5 separate regions of the Homo sapiens genome follow, and regions 1, 3, 4 and 5 are each linked to region 2. Evidence: promoter capture Hi-C in 16 types of primary human blood cells and fetal thymus (Javierre and others, 2016). All regions are on one chromosome and are shown on one strand. Each heading gives the region's core, a stretch centred on a gene start or on the middle of the fragment in contact. The rest is flanking DNA. Distances are from core to core; before and after follow the strand shown.

Region 1 (2,700 bases), core at 77-2,576, 640 kb before region 2:
AAGACCTGGCCAGCTGTCTGAATCACGTATGCTGCTGATGGCTTTGAACATCATCCTTTGCCCTCCTAGTAGAACATCTGTGATGGGCCTCTGCCACTGGAACAACATGTATTCTACACACTCTGGTTGAAGGCACCCATGGCCAGGTTTGTGGGTGATTGTGAATAAGCCCCCATACCCTGCTTCTCTGTGGAACTTGAAATGCAGCGGGTGGCCATGGCAATCACACGTTGCCTCTCTCCCCCTCCCGCTTATCCAGGGACATCAGGTTACAAGAGAACAGGCTGTTCTTCTGTCTTAGTAATGGGGTGGAGGAAGGGGGAAAGGCCAGCTGTATGCATATGAGTCGCATATGAGCTGCATATGAACCTCAGGTGAATTTGTTGTTATGGAAGTTGTTTTGCTTTTTTTTTTTTTCATACCATCAGCAACTGAAGCTGATTATGAGCCTAAGCAAGGCTGGTAATGTGGCTACTTGCTAATGATCACCCTAAAAGCAATAGTTAATGTTTATTAAACACTATGCACTGTGTTAAAGTGCTTATATATGGATGATCTTATTTAATCTCCACAGCAACCCTTTGAGACAGGGTCTATTTTTATCATCTTTACTTTTCAGATACAAAAACTGGAGGCCCAGAGAGGTGAAGTGACCTGTCTCAAGGCAGCAGGAGGAGAAGCCCAAGAAATCTGGCTCCCAAGATTGTACTTTTCACCCGATCTCTAGATTTAGTCCTAGAGATACAAGAGACCTGAAAGATCACCCAATCCAACTCCCTTATGCTATCAATAGGCGAAACTGAGAGCCAGCTAGGGAAAGGAATGTTTTTCTGAGCCATGAGCATTTTTTAAGAACATTTGTTTAACAAAAAATTTTAAGCATCTACCAATGCCAGACCCTGTGCTAGGTGCTGGGGATATCCAGTGCTTTTTTTAAAAGACAAAAATCTTGCCCTCATGAAGCTTATATTGCAGAGGGAGAGAAAGACTATAAACAAATTAATGAAATAAATGTGGTGTATTAGATGTTGATGAGTACTATAAGAAAAATGAAATGAGGAAGAGGCATAAGGAGTATGGATAACTTTAATTTTAAATAGGGTAGTGAGGGAAGATCTCACTGAAAAGGGACATAATTTGAATTAAGACCTGAAGGAGGTAAGGGAGTAAATTATTTGAATGTTTTGGGGAAGATTTTTCCAGGCAGACATAACAGTGTGGCTGGAACAGAGTGAGCATGAGGAAAAGTCGTAGGATATGATGTTGTAGAGCTAACGAGGGAACAAACCATGCAGGCACTTGTAAGTCATTGTAAGGATTTTTTTTCATTTTGTTAAGTATTTATTGATCAGCCTTTTTGCAATAGACACAGTTCTAATTACTCAGGATACTGTGTTGAGTACTTGCATTTAAACTCCCAGATCTCATTTTTTTAAACCTACATACATCAACAGTACATAGCCATCATGCCAAAAACAGTTGATACATTAAAAGGAGACATTCTCCAGACCAATGGAGACAATTCAACAAAATGTATGAGTGAACAAGGAGTCCTAGCTCTCAATTTGTTGTTACCTATATGTGAAATATTGGAGATACCATTTAGCCTACCAAGGCCTTAACATTTAACTATATGCTCTTCATATTTATACTTATTTAAGATCTAACTAGCTGCTCTTTAAAGCTTGTAACAAACAGAAATTTAACTAGATGATTTTTCAGGCTTATTTCAAGTAAAAAGAAACTTAAAGTTTTTCTTTTAATCTCTCAAATCAGTGGTTTTCAAAGTGTGGTCCCCTACCAGAAGCCTAGAAATTTGTTAAAATGCAAATTTTAGACCTCACCCTAGACATACTGAACCACATACCCTGGGGCAGGGAGTGTAGCAATCTTTGTTTTAACAAGTTCTGATGGGTACTAGAGTTTCCCAACCACCTCCTGGACATATATGATATATTTAATAGTAAATATATGTATGGATAACTTTTCTTTTTTATTTTTCCATAAGTTATTGGGGTACACAGGGTATTTGGTTACATGAGTAAGTCTTTTTTTTTTTTTTTTTTTTTTTTTTTTGAGATGGAATCTTACTCTGTCACCCAGGCTGGAGTGCAAGTGGTGCGATCTTGGCTCACTGCAACCTCCAACTCCCAGGTTCAAGTGATTCTCCTGCCTTAGCCTCCCAAGTAGCTGGGATTACAGGTGCCCACAACCATGCCCAGCTAATTTTTTAAAAATATTTTTAGTAGAGAGAGGGTTTCACCAAGTTGGCCAGGCTGCTCTTGAACTCCTGAGCTCAGGTGATCTGGCCTCCTCGGCCTCCCAAAGTGCTGGGATTACAGGTGTGAGCCACCACGCCTGGCCGAGTAAGTTCTTCAGTGGGATTTGTGAGATTTTGGTGCACCCATTACCCATATATACACTGCACCATATTTGTAGTCTTTCATCCCTCACCCCCTTCCCACTCTTCCCCCCAAGTCCCCAAAGTCCATTGTATCATTCTTATGCCTTTGTGTCGTCATAGCTCAGCTCCCACATATCAGTAAGAACATACAAGTTTAGTTTTACATTTCTGAGTTACATCACTTAGAATAATAGTCTTCAATCTCATCCAGGTCACTGAAAATGCTGTTAATTCATTCCTTTTTACGGCTGCATAGTATTCCATTGTGTGTATATATATATATATATCACAGTTTC
Region 2 (2,700 bases), core at 152-2,651:
GTCTTCACCTTTTTGACCTGGTGAACATCAAAGTAGATTGTTATTTCCATATCTTTTATACAACCAACACCTCCACCTCCTAAGTGAAAGTGCTAAAGCACAAACACTGAAGGCTAATACTAGCTTGAGAATCGTGTTGGCCTTCTTTAATGACAAAAGGGTTAATGTGTACACCAGTCCCAAAACACCAACAGAGAAAAGACAGTGCTTTGGACAAGGAAAAGTTCGCGAAGTCCAAGAAAACTAGGAACTCACAAACTCCTAGGGTGAATTCAGCAGGAAAAAGCGCTCCGATGACTTCTCTGAGACCTGGGACAGTCTGTTTTGATTTGCCTTTTTTCTTCTCCTATTTCGCGTGCAGTTAAGAAGTAATGATCATCGTCCCGTGGGACTAGGCGAAATTTAACATCCCTGAAGTTAAACCCGAGCAGTTGCTAATAAATGTATGAAGTTTATGTAAAGTTGATTCGTGCTGGTTTTTTATGCTCCAAACTTCTAGATTTCCCTCACTTACTCGGGGCAGCTTCCACTGACGTTATCGCACGGGCACAGGTACAACTTCACTGGGAACTCCAGGCAACTGATTTGCTCTGAAATGTTAATCAAAGGAAACGTGCGTCAATGTAAAGGCAAAGCTTTTCCCGTGTGGATCAAGGCGCTCAAGAGCAAGGCTCGAAAGTCTGGAGAGAACCAGCTACGCGCGTTAAGTGGCAAAAGGAAAACAGCGCAGCAACTACTTTTCCGAGAGTTTCTCCACTTTGCTAAGACCCATACAAAACCAGCGGCAAGTCCAGAGCCGGAGGGAGAAGAGCCGGGCCTCGGCTGAGCTTTGCCAGCCTAAGTCACCCTACCCCAGTCCGGGAAAGGGGACGCAGGCGGCTAAACACTCCGATTCAAAAGCGGGGCGGGCTTGGCGCCGCTCCGCAAGGAAACTTCGCTCGGGCAACCCAGGGACCATAACTCGGAGAACAGGGCTGGGCTCCCGGGAAGACGCCGCTCAGCACTGGCTGGAACTAGCCTGTCTACCTCCTCTAAGCGCCGGGCTGCCAACGCCGGGCGCGGGGAAGCCCCATCTCCGGGGGTCCAAGCCAGCGGGATTGCGCTTCCCCTGTGTCGCTGCGCTTAGGGGGTGCTCCGGGGGTGGGCCGGGGGCCAGCGGCCCGCCAAGGACCTGTTGGGGAAGGGACAGCCCGTTTGCCTTTACCTGTCGCCGAGGTCCGGAGCGGCGGAGCCCGTGTCCGCCGCCGGTGGGCAGCGCGCTCGGTCGGCTCTGGCGTCCAGGACACCAAGTTGAGTGAGCGCCCCACGTAGCCGGCAGAGCTTCATTCACACAGCCCAGCCGGGGAGGAGGGGGAGCGAAGCGGGCGCGCGGCTCATGTGACAGGGCGCCTCGCGAGTATCGGCTCAGCCCAGCCAGCGTCTGCGCGTGCGCGCCACGCCGAGCTCACACCCGGCACCTCTACCCAGCCGAGATGAGGGGAGGCCCGCCGGGGAGGAGCTGCCAGGAGGAGTTTCAACTTGCGCAGCCGCAGTACGTCGGCCCCGCTCGCTGCCATATTTAATGAGGACTGGGCGGGCGGGTCCTATCCCAGTGCTGGGCGTGTCAGTTGCCTTTGAAAACGCAATGCCCCATTGTGTTTCACTATTTCCAGCTTGCAGTGCCTTTTTTTGCTGGGGAGAAGGTTTGTCCTTAGAATGAAACTGTCTATCCTGAGCTTTCGGCCCACAGAGTAATTAGTAGTAGAAATCTAATACTAATAACATTAGATCACATAATTTGAGCTGCTTCTTATGTGCCAGGCACTCTCCTAACCCCTTTACTTTTTTCGTCTCATTTGGTGTTCACAATAACCCCGAGGGTTATTTCTCCATTTTTACTCATAAAAATACACAGGCACAGAAAGGTTAAGTAACTTGTCTAAACTCATATAATAGTAGGAATAGGAATAGTGATCAAACGTAGTGATACTTTTAACAGCCAACTTGATGTTTCCAGCAACGCTGCAAAAACTATACTGCAGTTGTTAGTACTGTATTATCTCCATATTAATCATTACAAAACAGAGGCTCAGAAAAGCTGAAGTCACAGGACTAGTACGTGGTAGAACTGGGAATCCAACCTAGGTCTAACTTACTCCAAAGCCCTTACCCTAGGTTTGAAAGAAACAGCACACCGTTTTGCAGAAGAGAAAACTTAGGCCAAATGGGGTGCACTGACTCACTTAAGATGATCCAGCTAATTAGTTCTTGGCAGACCTGAGACTGGAATCCATATAATCCAAGTAATCTAACTAGAACCAGGGTACTCTACTGCAGTGAACAATTTGGAATGCCTACTTTGGACAAGCTAAGTGGTCAGGGATTTAAAAACCCCTATCCTAGCCCAATCAGCATAAGGCTACCGGGGACAAATTTGTAATCCGACATAGTCAGGCTTTGACCCATTGCAATATGAGAGACTGCACACGGTAGGCATTTCATCAAACAGAAAAACATGGAGTCATTATAGGATTGGAGAGAAGAGTGGAGTTTAGGTGAATTTTAAACAAAGCAGTGTTTTTGGTAAGCTCAAAGCAAAGCAGTACTGTCATTTGGGGTCACCATCAGGTCTGAACTGCAAAGTGAACCCAGAGTTGTGTTTCCTTGGGAACCACAAAATAAAGATAGATGTGGAATGTTGTGTCCAGATACCCCTTATCT
Region 3 (2,700 bases), core at 10-2,509, 660 kb after region 2:
AGAAAGCGGGACCCACACTCGCCAGCTCTGTGATCTTGGGCAAGTTGCTTGACTACTTATACCTCCGTTTCCCTCATCTGTATAACAGGAATACAATAATGATGAGATGGAGCTCAAGGGGCCATGGTGAGGATTGAACATGATCACTTGTGAGACATGTTCAGCACTGTATCTGACCCATGGAAAATTCAAGATAAACATCAGCTACTGAGATGATGGCGGATATTTGGAATCCTAAATCCTTGGAAACTGGGGCTTTTTGAAGTAAAAGACCCCAAAGGCTGAGGGCCTCAGAAGCATCAGGCCATGATGTTCCTGAAACAAGAGGGTCAGGGTCCCAATGGGCCTCTGGGGTTCATCGTGAGGATGGATGCATTAATATTGGGGACCTGCTAGGGACCTTCCCAGTGGGACAGTGGCTGGGTCAGGGCACTCAAGCCCTAAAACGTGATGAGGCGAGACTTTTCTCTCTTTCCTCATTCAGTAACTGTCAGTAGATTCTGGGAGCCAGGGATTCTCCGACTCTTCAAGTCCATGAATTTTAGGGGATGACAGTGGGCTCTCCGCTTTCTCCTCCATGAAGTAACTTACATGCCCCTCACCCTCTGTGGGAGGGGTGTTGCAGGGGGTGCAGAACTCCCCTCGCCGGGTAGTTCAAGCAATGGGGACCATATCAATTCCATCTATAGGGAAACTGAGGCCTGGAGTAGGGCGAGGCCTCTGGGAACCCAGCCCTATTCTGTCTCTTTCCCTGGCATTTCCCATCCACACATAGAGCTTCAGATTCTCTTTCTTTCCCCAGAGACCCTCAAATATCCTCTCACTCACAGAATGGTGTCTCTGCCTGCCTCGGGTTGGCCCTGTGATTTATTTTAGTTCTTTTCCCTTGTTTTTTTTTTTTCAAACTCTATACACTTTTGTTTTAAAAACTGTGGTTTCTCATGAGCCCTATTATCTCATTGATACCTCTCACCTCTGTGGTGAGGGGAAGAAATCATATTTTCAGATGACTCGTAAAGGGCAAAGAAAAAAACCCAAAATTTCAAAATTTCCGTTTAAGTCTCATAATCAAGAAAAGGAGAAACACAGAGAGAGAGAAAAAAAAAACTATGAGAACCCCTCCCCACCCCGTGATTATCAGCGCACACACTCATCGAAAAAAATTTGGATTATTAGAAGAGAGAGGTCTGCGGCTTCCACACCGTACAGCGTGGTTTTTCTTCTCGGTATAAAAGCAAAGTTGTTTTTGATACGTGACAGTTTCCCACAAGCCAGGCTGATCCTTTTCTGTCAGTCCACTTCACCAAGGTGAGTGTCCCTGCTCTCCCCTACCAGATGTGGGCCCCATTGGAGGAGATGGCAGGGAGGTAGGCACGGCGGGGGGGTCAGGGGCCCTCTGGTACAGTGGGATGTACCCAGCTACCGTGATTCCAGCCAGGTAAGGTCTTTAAAAAAATAATAGAATAAATGGCAGAAGACTTAAAGGTGAAGTACTTAATGCATGGGCAGGGGCAAAAATAAATGAATTCATCAATTGATACGTAGATGGATAGGATTTTTAAAATATGTCAGCTGCCAGTCTTTATGGATTTCAGAGCTTTGAACAACTTGAAATGCTGTCCAGGTGCAACTGAAAATTTCAACTGCATCTCTCTCATCTCTTTGTCTCTTAGCTCTTGATGCCTCTCATCCTTCTCTGTCTCTCTGCTCACCCTGTCTTGCTCTTTTACATGTTTCTCTGCCTCTCTTTCTCCCGCCATCTGTCTGTCGCTACACTCAGACTCTCTTTCCCCGCATCTCTCCTGGCCTCTGACCATCTCCCCTATCTCTGTCTCCTCCATCTTGACCACACTCCATCGATCTCCTTTCCTCCATCTCTCCCGCTCTCTTTTCTTGCCTTCCCCCACCTGCCTTCCCAGCCAGCATCCAGCCTAGAGCTTTGTACACAGCTGGCGTTTAATAATAGTAATGTCGCCGAGGACCTTTACATTTTATGAGAGTGAGCATCAGTTCTGTTCACCCTAGTAGCAGGAGGATTGCAAGGTGCCGGGGCAAGCTGAGCACTTAACTGAACTTTGCTTGTATCGCTTTAGAGGAGACCCTTGGGGCGGGGGGGCAGGGAGCACTTCACACCATTGTCAACCGTAGTTTAGCTGTGTGGACCTACCCCAGGACTGCATGTGTGTGACCAGAGTCCATATTCAGGAAGCAAACAGGTTGTTCAGGGCTGGGGTGAGCTCGATTCTGCAGGCTTAGCACAGCGTTTGGCACAAAGTAAGTGCTCACGAAGTGTTAGCTATTAGTATTTCTGTAACCAAATTAGAATCATGCTATATATTGGTTTTGTTCCTGCTTTATTCAATTAACAGTAGTGTTTTTGAAGCTTACTAAAAATTGTTTGAACACATGATCTTTCATGATGGACAAGACTGTCCTCACATCAGCATGAACTTTGATTGATTTGACCAAGTGCCGATTGTTGGACATTCCGGTTGTTTCTCGTTTTTTTCTATAAACATCCCTGACTGCTTCCTTGGATTCCTGAAAAGGGAGTTGCTGGGGCAAAGGGGGCGTGCATTTTTAAAGTTTATGACCCTCTCTGCTAATTCTCCTTCCAAAAGGTTGTCCTATTTTATGCTCCCTCTACTTAAGCTAACCCTAGGTGAGTATTATTATGTTTTAATTATTTCCCAACATGAC
Region 4 (2,700 bases), core at 21-2,520, 760 kb before region 2:
TTATGTTATGGCCACATTCAACTGCTTATATTTCTCCAATGTATTCGTCAGAGTTCTCTAGAGGGACAGAACTAATAGGATATATATATGCACACACACATATATATAAAGGGGAGCTTATTAAGTATTAACTTACATGATCACAAGGTCTCACAATAGGCCATCTGCAAGCTGAGGAGCAAGGAGAGCCAGTCTGAGTCCCAAAGCTGAAGAAATTGGAGTCTGATGTTCGAGGGCAGGAAGCATCCAGCATGGCAGAAAGATGTAGGCTGGGAGGCTAGGCCAGTCTCTGCTTCTCACATTTTTCTGCCTGCTTTATATTTGCTGGCAGCTGATTAGATTGTGCCCACCAGATGAAGGGTGGTTCTGCCTTCCCCAGCCCACTGACTCAAATGTTAATTTCTTTTGGCAACACCCACACAGACACACCCAGGATCAATACTTTGTATCCTTCAATCCAATCAAGTTGACACTCAGTATTAACCATCACATCCAGCTACAACATATTCTCTCATATCTCTGTGCCTTTTCACATTCTGCTCCTTCTTCCCAAAATGATGACTGCTCCTTCCTCTTCTTTGTTTAGCTAACTCTTATTCAACACTCAAGACTTGACCTAAGCTTTATCACTTCTAAGAAGTGTTAGGGTTGATATCCCCAGACTGTATTAAGCTTCCTCCCATAAACAACACCCTTTAATTTCCTCTATCTAGAATCGTAACAGCCTGTTTACTTGTCTATTTCCCCCCTGTAAATTTTGGGCAGTGTCCATGTGTTGTTTTTCCTCCTATCTTAAGTATAGTGATCATAGTGCTTAGCAGGGTTACATGCTCGATACTCATTGAATAGCTAATTGAATGGAATGAATGTATGCCAGGCAAGGGCAGTAAGGGTTATTGCAGTGAGGATTAGAGGCTGAGACTTTTAGGGGTATTGGGTTGTCAGGCATCCAAATACTTGAAAGCTGAGATAGTGGATTCAGCAAAGGAAAGAGATAGAGTCAAAGATGAGTGCAAGGTTTCTTGCCAAATTGGATTGAGTTAAAAGATACTAGTTACAAATGCTATTTATAAGAACTAGCATTTATTGAGTGCCTCTTAGACACTGAGCATTTGACTAGGTACTTTATATGCTTTATATCAAAAAGAAACAAAATAATGAGCTAGTTTTAGACATGTGGAATTTGAAGCATCTGTAAGACGTCCAAATATAAAGGACGAGTAGACAGTTGTAACTATGGTTCTTGGGTACACAAAGAAAAAAATGACTCAATAATTAAATTGAAAGTTATTTGGGTCGATAGTAATTGAAGCCATTGGGATGGATGGGATCTTCCAGAAACAGTAATGTAGGGAGGAAAAGAAGACGATCAGGGACCAGATTCTGGGGGACATATGTGAGCTAAATGCAAAGAGGGGAACCATTCATTCATTCATCTAACAAATATTTACTAGAGCCATGGTCTGTGTCGGGTACTATTTTAGGAACTGGGGGTATATCAGTGAACAAAATAGCCTTTTCCCTCATGGAGCTGATATTCTAACAGGAATGGGAGAAGTAGACAATAATCACAAATACGCAAACATGTTATATCCATTACTGGTAAGTGCTATAAAGGAAAATAAAGCAATGCAAAGGCATATAAAATGACTAAATGTGGGTGTGGTAGGAGCAGCAGGGGCAGGGGAGACTTTAGCTCATTCAGGGAAGACCACTATGAAGATATTTGAACCAAGAGTTAAATGATAAGAAAGAGGCAGCCATATAAAGATCTGGGGAGAAGAGCATTCCAGCCAGAAGAATATCAAGTACAAGAGCTCTTAAATGGAAAAATACATGATGTATTCAAGGGTCAGAAAGAAAGCTTTAAAACTGGAGTGTGGTAAGCAAAGGAAGCATGAAAGGAGAGGAAGCCAGGCATATAATCACACAGGGCCTTGTAGGCTCTGGTAAGAAGTTCAAATGTGTACAAATGTATTCTATTTGCAGAAGGAAGCTGTTAGAGAGTTCTAAGCAGAACAGTGGTATGATTAGTTTTGGATTGATAGATGATCACCGTGGCTGCTGTATGGGAAACAGACTGTAGGGGGCAGAGAGGAAGCAGGAAAACTTGTTAGGAGGCTACTTGGAATAATTCAAGCAAGAGATGGTAATGAGTCGGATTTGGATTTTAGTGATGGAGATGGTAAAAAGTTGTTAGATTTAGGATTTGTTTTGGAGGACTTGCTGATGGATCAAGTGTGAATTGGGCAGGGCTGTGGTAGGGAATGGGTAGGCAAGGACTAAATGCTTCCTTGGGTTTTGACCTGAATAACTGGGTGGTACCATTTACTGAGGCGAGAAAGACTGGAGGAGAAACAAGTTTTATGGGTAACGGGAAGAAGTAGGAAAGAAGTAGCTTGGTTTTATACACATTAACTTTGTAAATGTAATGACATGTCTATTGGACAGCTACATGCTAATGTTAACTAAGAAATTAGGTAGAAGAGTCTAGAATTGAGAAAATAGGTCAAGGTTAAATATTTAAATTTTGGAGTCACCCTCTGATAAAGCTTTGACACCAGGTGAGAACATTAATGGGTTAAGTATATTATAAAATGGTATTAATATAAAAATTCCTGAATTTGATAATAGTACTGTAATTGTATAAGATAATTTCTCTCCTTAGGAAAGACAAACTGAAGTATTTAGAGGTAAAGG
Region 5 (2,700 bases), core at 174-2,673, 610 kb before region 2:
ATCTACTATTGCTTTCTCTTTTTTTTTTACATCTGTTAAGGCAATCCTGTCAATACCACTACGTGATTTCTATTATTATCTCTATACTATGGTTTGGATATGGTTTGTCCCCTCAAAAACTCATGTTGAAATTTAATTGCCATTGTGATGGTATTGGCGGATGGGACCTTTCAGAGATGATTAGGCCATGAGGGTACTGCCTTCATAAATAGATTAATGCCACTACCGTGGTAGTGGATTTGTTACAAAAGGATGAGTACAACCCCCTTTTGCCTCTCTCTCTCTCGCCCTCTTTTCCTCTTCCACCTTCCACCATGGGATGAGGCAGCGAGAAGGTTCTCATAAGATGCCAGCTCCTTGGTCTTGGACTTCCCAGCCTCCAGAACTGTGAGGAAATAAATTTCTGTTCATTATAAATTCCCTAGTCTCAAGTATTATGTTATACCAGTACAAAATGGACTAAGACACCCTATTGTATACACAAGGAAACTAAGGCACAGAGAAGCAAAATCCCTTGCCTAAGATCATATGGCTGGTTAGTGGAAGAGTTCATATTGGAACCCAGCTCTTCAGGACCCTGAAGCTTGCACAGTATAAACTGTTGAAATGAACTTCAGTTGAGAGTACAGGGAATAACACAAACAAGGTTCAGAATTGGAAACAAAAGACAAATATGGGGAACTGTAAATATTCTAGCTGGTTTGTGGGCTTGCAGAAGCTTCCATAGCAGGAAGACATCTGAATGCAGATGGCGTGAAATGCCAAACAGAGAAGCATGAACTTTATTTAGTAGACATGTATTGGAGTGACATGATGAATGTATCCTTTTGAGAATATTAATCAAGTGCTACTGTGCAAGATGGATTCGAGGGGAAGAGACTGAAGGACAGGAATAAAGTCAAGGCCCTTGATGCTGATCAGCAATCTTTTTTTTCTCAAACCTCACTCTCTCCTTCCTCTTAGCAGATTCCAAGTTTTTAACACTTTCCTTCAACCCTTTAACCACCCCCATTGCTTGAATTTTTATCAGCTAAGCTTTTTTGAGAAATTTAGAGGACTTCGGTTGGAATATCTTTCCATTCTTGGCCTTCTACTGCCAAATTTATCTCTAGCTTACCCCCATCCTGTTCTCATTGGTAGTAATAACTACCATTTTTATCATTTACTCTTTCATGTAATCCTTACAACTACATTGTGAGAAAGGTTTAGTTATCCTCAATTTGTAACTGAGAAAATGGATATTTGGAGTGATTAAGTGCTTGTCAGGTTTACCCAGATAGCAAATGGCAGCGCTGAGATTTGAATCTAGGCCTATTTGATTTCAAGATCACCCTCATCACTACTGTAGTCTGAGAGTGAGCAACGACTGCACCACTCTCCTCTTGAGTTCCATTTTATCTTCGCCTTCTATCTCCTTAGGGTCCCTCTCCAGCAACTATCCCGTCTTTCTCCTGTAAAGTCAACTTATCTGTTCCCGTGGACTTTTTCCTCTCAGTAAATATACACCCTAAGCTCTCATCTGCTAAAGAACAATATTAAATTAACAAGAGTCAACTTCACCCATGTTGTTCCTCATAAACATCATCCTGTTACTCTTTATTCCAAATGTCTGTAAATATTTGCCTATTCTGTCTCTACTTCCTCACTTCCCCCACTGAAATCTGGTTTCAGTCTCAATACTACCTGATAGCACTTTTGCTAGAGTCACAAAATTGACCAATCCTATTTCATCCCTAATATTATCTGGTCTCTCTGTTTCCGGTACTCTCCTTCATGTCACTCTTCCACTCTGTCCTATATTCTAAGCTTCCAAACCACTACATTACTTCAGATTCCCATCACCTCTTTTCTGGGTAAATCTCCTCTCTCTACTCTTGCCATCTCCAATCCATTCTCCACATTGTCTGTAAGAGTAAACTTTCTAAAATGTAAATGTAACCATGTTACTGTCTGCATTAGTCCATTCTCTCATTGCTATAAAGAAATACCTAAGACTGAATAATTTATAAAGAAAAGAAGTTTAATTAGCTCATGGTTCTACAGAGTATACAGGAAGTATAGCAGCTTCTGCTTCTGGGGGGGCTTCAGGATGCTTCCAATCATGATGGAAGGCAAAGGGGGAGCGAGGCATCTCACATGGCTAACGCAGGAGGAAAAGAGAGAGAGGGGAGGTGCTACATACTGTTAAACAACCAGATCTCACAAGAAATCACTCACTATTTCAACACAGCACCAAGGGAGATGGTGCTAAACCATTCATAAGTAGCCACCCCCATGATCAAATCACCTCCCCCAAAGCCCTACCTCCAACATTGGGGATTACAATTGATATGAAATTTGGGCGGGGAGTGGGAACGCGGATCTAAACTATATCACTATCCTACTTAAAACCCTTCAATTCAAATACAGAACTACATAGTAGGTAGTATATAGCTCTTATAGAATTATGGCCTTTGTTTAGGCCACATCTTCCCCCTCTTTTTCCTGTACACTCTTAAGTTCTAGCCATATTGAGTGCCTTACTTTCTCATATCCTCATGCCTTTACAAGTGCTCTTCTTCCTCTGTTTTATACATTTCTTCTCCTTGGCCATTGGTTGAACTTCTCTTCTTTCATGACTTAGTTCATTTATTCTGCCATTCCTGCAACTTCTCCACCCCAACTCTTCCCCATGTTCCAATCCCCCAAACAGTTTGTTGC

The links. Contacts are between HindIII fragments. The CHiCAGO score rates a contact against its expected background, and 5 or more counts as called.
Region 1: a contact is called between a fragment that was not itself captured here and the fragment with the promoter of CLCN5 in region 2, in 10 of 17 cell types (total B cells, naive B cells, total CD4 T cells and 7 more). The highest score is 12.6, in total B cells.
Region 3: the fragment with the promoter of FOXP3 here is called in contact with the fragment with the promoter of CLCN5 in region 2 in 3 of 17 cell types (activated CD4 T cells, monocytes and fetal thymus); the score reaches 7.2 in activated CD4 T cells.
Region 4: a fragment that was not itself captured here is called in contact with the fragment with the promoter of CLCN5 in region 2 in 3 of 17 cell types (endothelial precursors, total B cells and M2 macrophages); the score reaches 7.6 in endothelial precursors.
Region 5: a contact is called between a fragment that was not itself captured here and the fragment with the promoter of CLCN5 in region 2, in 1 of 17 cell types (naive B cells). The highest score is 5.2, in naive B cells.

The regions. Positions count from the first base shown.
Region 1 is chrX:50,563,498-50,566,197 of GRCh38, reverse strand. No RefSeq gene overlaps it. Among named protein-coding and RNA genes, the nearest start is that of DGKK, 94 kb to the right of the region's middle. The HindIII fragment of the contact is 721 bases long and covers 966-1,686 here.
Region 2 is chrX:49,921,297-49,923,996 of GRCh38, reverse strand. CLCN5 (chloride voltage-gated channel 5) reads right to left here and starts at 1,401. Exons shown (of 15, transcript NM_001127898.4): 1 at 1,205-1,401; 2 at 515-590. RefSeq lists a silencer at 1,090-1,139. The HindIII fragment of the contact is 4,286 bases long and covers 638-2,700 here.
Region 3 is chrX:49,263,269-49,265,968 of GRCh38, reverse strand. It overlaps FOXP3 (forkhead box P3), which reads left to right and starts at 1,259. Exons shown (of 12, transcript NM_014009.4): 1 at 1,259-1,308. The HindIII fragment of the contact is 2,410 bases long and covers 1-2,385 here.
Region 4 is chrX:50,680,575-50,683,274 of GRCh38, reverse strand. All of the region lies in intron 2 of SHROOM4 (shroom family member 4), which reads left to right. Among named protein-coding and RNA genes, the nearest start is that of SHROOM4, 130 kb to the left of the region's middle. The HindIII fragment of the contact is 1,192 bases long and covers 675-1,866 here.
Region 5 is chrX:50,533,012-50,535,711 of GRCh38, reverse strand. No RefSeq gene overlaps it. Among named protein-coding and RNA genes, the nearest start is that of DGKK, 64 kb to the right of the region's middle. The HindIII fragment of the contact is 771 bases long and covers 1,038-1,808 here.